2 separate regions of the Homo sapiens genome follow, and region 2 is linked to region 1. The links are contacts of gene promoters, found by promoter capture Hi-C in human tissues and cell types (Jung and others, 2019). All regions are on one chromosome and are shown on one strand. The core of a region is centred on a gene start or on the middle of the fragment in contact, and the rest is flanking DNA. Distances in the headings are between cores, read along the strand shown.

Evidence for each region. The method cuts DNA at HindIII sites, captures the fragments that hold promoters and counts their contacts. A contact is called where the count stands out against the background at its distance.
Region 2: a contact is called between a fragment that was not itself captured here and the fragment with the promoter of MGAT3 in region 1, in 1 of the 25 tissues and cell types used here (spleen).

What each region holds. Positions count from the first base shown.
Region 1 is chr22:39,455,616-39,458,463 of GRCh38, reverse strand. MGAT3 (beta-1,4-mannosyl-glycoprotein 4-beta-N-acetylglucosaminyltransferase) reads right to left here and starts at 1,452. Exons shown (of 2, transcript NM_002409.5): 1 at 907-1,452. RefSeq lists an enhancer at 1-6 and silencers at 327-456, 467-736, 1,467-1,526. The HindIII fragment of the contact is 12,980 bases long and covers 1-2,848 here.
Region 2 is chr22:40,700,989-40,703,836 of GRCh38, reverse strand. No RefSeq gene overlaps it. Among named protein-coding and RNA genes, the nearest start is that of MCHR1, 23 kb to the right of the region's middle. The HindIII fragment of the contact is 6,289 bases long and covers 1-2,848 here.

The DNA of each region.
Region 1 (2,848 bases), core at 203-2,702:
CCCCATCAAGGCGAATCTGGACTGGTGTGTCCCAGGAATGAAGTGGGGAACCAGGGAGGAATCCCACTGGGGTAGTGTGTCTGCCCACACCCCATCAGGGGCCTTCAGGGGCATCTTCCGGGGCTGGGGGTCATCCGACCTCAGACCACTAGGTCTGGCCGCGCGGCATCCCTTCCTGCTGCACCCCAGCTCAGGAACCCCACCATACACACACCCAGGCGCACTCCCCTCCCCACTCCCGGTTCCAGAACTCACTATTTGCAGATATTTATAGCGCCCTCCCTCAGCCAGGTTCCCTCCCCCGCCCTGGGCAGAGCAATGCAAGGAGCCGGGGGCCCCCACCCCGGTAAATGGCCGGGGGCCCTCTCCACATTTGCCTCTGCCTGGTCCCCAGGGGTAGCTACGGCCGCAGCCCCCGCACCCGCCCAGCCCCCGACTGCGCTTGGGCCTCGGCTGCCGCCGCCGCAGTCTGGGGTCGGGGGTGGGGAAGGCGGGCGCGGAGGCCTCCCACCCCAGCCCCGCGCCGCGCCGGAGGTTGTGGGGGAGCCGCGCCGGAGGCTGGGGGGTGCCGCGCACAAAGCACGGCTCGAGCCCCGCGCCTCGGGGACGTCCCCCGCCCGGCCGTGGGAGGGGGTCGGGCGCTGAGGCTCTGCCCTCCGGGGACCGGGGAGCTCGGAGGAGCGGCGGGTAGGGGGAGGGGGCCCGCGCCGAGCGGCTTCCCCGGCATCCCGCCCCCACCGCGGCCTCCGGGCCCCCAGCCCCAGTGCGCCCGCGCCCGCCCCCTAAGGTCACGCTCGGGGAGTGGGCCGCGGAGCCGGGCGGGGGGCGCCAAGCGCAGCGCGGGAGGGCGGGCAGCGCGGGGATAGAGGGGCCGCGGCGCCCCCCAGGACGCCGGGGTCAACTCACCCATCGCCCGCTGGGTCTCAGCAACGGCGGCAGCAGCGGCGGCGGCGGCTCCGCGGCCCCCGGGGTCCCCGGCGGGGAGATGCTGGCGTCCGCCGCAGCCTCTCGCCCCATCCCGGGCTCCGGCGGCAGCGGCTGCGGCGGGCGCCCGGCATCGCAGGCAGCGCGGCCCCGGCCCGGCCCCGATCCCCTCCCCCCACCCCCACTTCCACCCCGTCCCGGGGACCCGGCGCGGCCGCTCGGCTGCACCCCGGGGCGGCGGCGGGGGCCCGGCGAGCGGACGGGCGCGGGGGAGGGACCGCGGCGGGCGCGCGGGGGGCGCGGAGGCGAGGCCGAGCGCGGCGCGCAGGGGTGCCCGCTCCCGCCGGCTCAAGCGGCTCCGGCCCCCACCCCGCCCCCTCCGCAACCCCCTCCCCTCCCCCGCCAGCCGGGCTCCGCCGCCGCGCCGGGCCGGGGGCGCCTCGCACCGCAGACTCCGGCCGCCGCCGCCCCGCGCCGCCCGCGCGTGCTGGATCGAGTGTGTGCGTGTGCGAGCGAGTGTGTGTGAGTGCGAGTGTGCGCGCGCCCCTCCTGTGACCGTGCGTGCGCCGGCCCACGGCCCGGGGCGGCCTGCGCGGGGGCGTGTGCGGGGAATGCGGGTAGTTCGGAGTGCGGGCCTGGTGTGCGTGCGGGGCAGCAAGTCCCGTTCTGTGTATGCGTGGACGGGTGCGTTCCGCAGCGTGCCCGGGTCGGTGTGACTCCGTGTGCCCGAGTCTGTGCCTGTGTGTGCATGGACGTGCAGATCCGTGTTGCGGTGTGTGCGTGGATGCGCCTGTGCCCGCGTGAACCTGGGCCGGGATTTCGCATAGGCATCTGTGACCATGTGCAGAGGCCTGGGCCTGTGATGTGTGCACGGTGCCGGGCCTGTTACGGTGTCTGCAGAGTCTGTGTGTCTGCTTGGGGCGTGGGTGACCGCTGTACACCGGCCTGTGTCCTTCCGTCCGACCCCCTCCGTCCCTCACATGCCCGAAGCCACCTGCGCACTCCTGGGGTAACTGGGGGGGCCTCCCCTCCCCCGCCCCCCTCACCCGGCCACCCTAGGCCCGGTCGGCCCTGCCAACCCTCTTGAGCCTACTCTCCTGCCACTTGCCCACCAGCGGTTCTCCGAGGGCCCACCGTGTCGTGCCCTGGCTCCTCGTGGCCTTGCTCTAGGCCATTCCTCTCAGGGCTCAGAGGCGTCCCCCACGTGTTTCCCGCCTTTCAAGTGGTTCCGTTCTGGGGCCTACAGAGCAGCCACTTCCTCCCGCGGTGCGAGGCACAAGGCATTGTGGGTACGCAGCAGACATCTCTGCGCCGCCATCGTCGAAGGTGCAGGGATGCGCTACCTATTCTATATCCCAGCGAATGTGCTCCAGAATAGTCCCAGAGGCCTTTGCTGAACCATCCGGGCTGCCTAGGGCTGGTCTACCTGCTCCAGGTGCCTCCGTGCCCAGCTTCATCCATCCTTGCTGAGGAGGCAGAGTGATCCTACTCCAACATTCACTTGAGCAGGTCACTCTCCTGCCTGCACCTTCAATGGCTCCCACTTGCCCTCAGCTTAAGTTCAGTGCCTGGGCGGGGCACAGGGAGCCCCTGGTGACCTAGTCTTGCCCCCTTCTTCAACGTCACCCTCACTGCTCTTTTCTTCCTGGAGGCTCTCTCTAAGCAAGGGTGGGCAAACCATTTGCTTTAAGAGATTGATTGTAAATCTTTTAGGCTTTGCCAGCCATATGGTCTCTGTCCCAACTACTCAACTCTGCCATCGTAGCATAAAATCAACCATAGACAATACGTAAAAGAATGAGCCTGGCGGTGTTCCAATAAAACTTTATGGACACAAAAATTTGAATTTCGTGTCATTTTCACGTGTCCAGAAACATTTTTTGATGTTTTCCCAACCATTTGAAAGTGTAAGATCCATTCCTAG
Region 2 (2,848 bases), core at 255-2,754, 1.2 Mb before region 1:
GTGCCCAAAGTCCATTTGTCTGGCAAGTAAGAGCTTTGTCCAGGGTTGGTAATGTTGCCGGCATTTAGCTTTTGGGCCTTTTTTTCTGGAGAGACTAGGATAGAGAGACAGCAGAACTGCCATGAACCAAACTCTCTCGTTTTTCCCTTTTGCAATGAATTGGTTTGTCTCCAGGCTGCTGTTACAACCACGTAATTGCAACCAGGTTACTTTCTTTCTTCTTATTTTTTTTTCAACCTCTAAATCTACTTTAAACTTTCTTTGTTTCTAATAGAGATGGGGTCTTCCTATGTTGTCCAGGCTGGTCTCAAACTCCTGGGCTCAAGTGATCCTCCTGCCTTGGCCTCACAAAGTGTTGGCATTACAGGCATGAGCCACTTCAACAAGCCCAGATTACTTTCTTGTCACATGTTGCAAAACAGACCCCAGGAGGATCTGAGAACACAGAATGTATCAAGCTGAGACACAGACAAGGACACAGTGGGGATACCCATGTGACTGATCCTAGCCAATAAGTGTGTTCCACTTCTCTGGTTTTCATGCTTGATTGGGTGGAAGTGGGAAGATATGTAACTCATACAGGACCAATCAGAGGCTTATTCAGGGTTTGAAACAGACACTGGGGAGAAAGGTGGCAAGGAGTACCGGGTAGCAGGAAAGAAGATATGCTAATTCCTGGAGCTGCTGCCAGTAGGAACAAGGCAAGTTTACATGCCTGCTGGGCACCATCTTTGCTACCACTTGGGAGAACATCCCCTATGAGAAGGAAGCCAAAAGAGAGGAAAACTGAGCCAGACAGTGAGGAGAGATAAATCGTGAGGAAGAGGGTGGGCGCGGTGGCTCACGCCTGTAATCCCAGCATTTTGGGAGGCTGAGGTGGGTGGATCACAGGTCAGGAGTTCAAGACCAGCCTGGCCAAGATGGTGAAACCCTGTCTCTACTAAAAATACAAAAAAAAAAAAAAAAAAAATTAGCTGGGCGTGGTGGCGAGGGCCTGTAATCCCAGCTACTCGGGAGGCTGGGGCAGAGAACTGCTTGAACCTGGGAGGCAGAGGTTGCAGTGAGCTGAGATTGCACCACTGCACTCCAGCCTGGATGACAGAGCGAGACTCCATCTCAAAAAATAAATAAATAAAATAAAATAAAATGTGAGGAAGAGAGAAAGGGAATGTCTGTCCCGATGGCCTTGAGCCCTTGGATCCAGTCATGACTTAAAGCCAGATCTAGTCCTCAACGTTTCCCTTTAATAAGCCAATACATTCCCCCTTTTTGCTCAAATCAGAGTTAAATTTCTAACATTTACAACAACAACAAAAAAAGCTCTCACAAATCATCTTAGTCAGCTCAGGCTGATATAATAAAATACCGGGCGGCTTAAACAACAGGCATTTATTTCTCCTGATTCTGGAGGCTGGGAAGTCCCAGATCAAAGTGCCAGCCAATTGCATTCCTGCTGAGGATTCTCTTCCTGGCCAGACTTGGCCGGGTGTGGTGGTTCATGCCTGTAATCCCAGCACTTTGGGAGGCCGAGGTGGGCGGATCACCTGAGGTCAGGAGTTCAAGACCAGCCTGGCCAACATGGTGAAACCCCATCTCTACTAAAAATACAAAATTTAGCTGGGCTTGGTTGTGGGCACCTGTAATCCTAGCTACTCAGGTGGCCGAGGCAGGAGAATCGCTTGAACCCGGGAGGTGGAGGTTGCAGTGAGCCGAGATTGCGCCATTGCCCTCCAGCCTGGGCGAAAGAGGGAGATTCTGTCTCAAAAAAAAAAAGAAAGGTTACTTCAGAAAGTATAGTGAGCTGAAATTGTGCCACTGCACTCCAGCCTGGGTGACAGAGTGAGACTCCATCTCAAAAATAAATAAATAAATAAAAGACTCTTTCTGGCTTGCAGACATCAGTCTTCTGTATCCTCACAGAAGTGTGCAGGTGGAGAGAGGCAGAGGGGAAGCAAGCTTTCTGATGTCTCTTCTTATAAGGGCCACACCCTCAAGACTTCCTCTAAACCGGATCGCTTCCCAAAGACTCCATCTCCAGATACTAACACATTTGGGGGTTAGGGCTTTGTTTTGCAGCAGAGTGAGAGATCACCTCCAACCTCATGTGCCTCTTATGTGGGCTCTCAGCTATATCTAGAGACCAAATTGACACAAGGCAGAGTAGCAAGATAAAAGCATATAAGCTTTATTAGTTTTCCATGTACACAGGGATCTTCACAAGAGTGAAGTCTGAAGAAGTGGCCAAAGTAAGATGCATTTATACTTTTTCGACAAAGAACAATACATTTGAGAAGAAATAACAGGGCAAAAGGGATCTGGTTACGGGCAGTAAATTTCTAAGGGAGTCACCGGGAGATGTATGGGAGGGTATACAACCAGCAGAATAGAAAGGTCATTTCGGGCGCCAGGTGCAGTGGCTCATACCTGTAATCCCAGCACTCTGGCAGGCCGAGGCAGGCGGATCATCTGAGGTCAGGAGTTTGAGACCAGCCTGGCCAAAATGGTGAAACCCCATCTCTACTAAAAGTACAAAAATTAGCCAGGCCTGTTGGTGCATGCCTGTAATCCCAGCTACGCGGGAGGCTGAGGCAGGAGAATCTCTTAAACCCGGGAGGCAGAGGTTGCAGTGAGCCGAGATTGTGCCATTGCACTCCAGCCTGGGTGAGACAGATTCTGTCTCAAAAAAAAAAAAAAAGGAAAAGAAAATAAAGGTTACTTCATGAAGTATAGTTGTTCAGGTCCACTGCACTGCAGCCCCCAACTTCCAGTCTCTGGTGATAAGGGATATTTTCACCCCCCTGATAAGGGGAGTGTACCCCTCCCAGAGGAATCCTTATGGCTTGCTGCA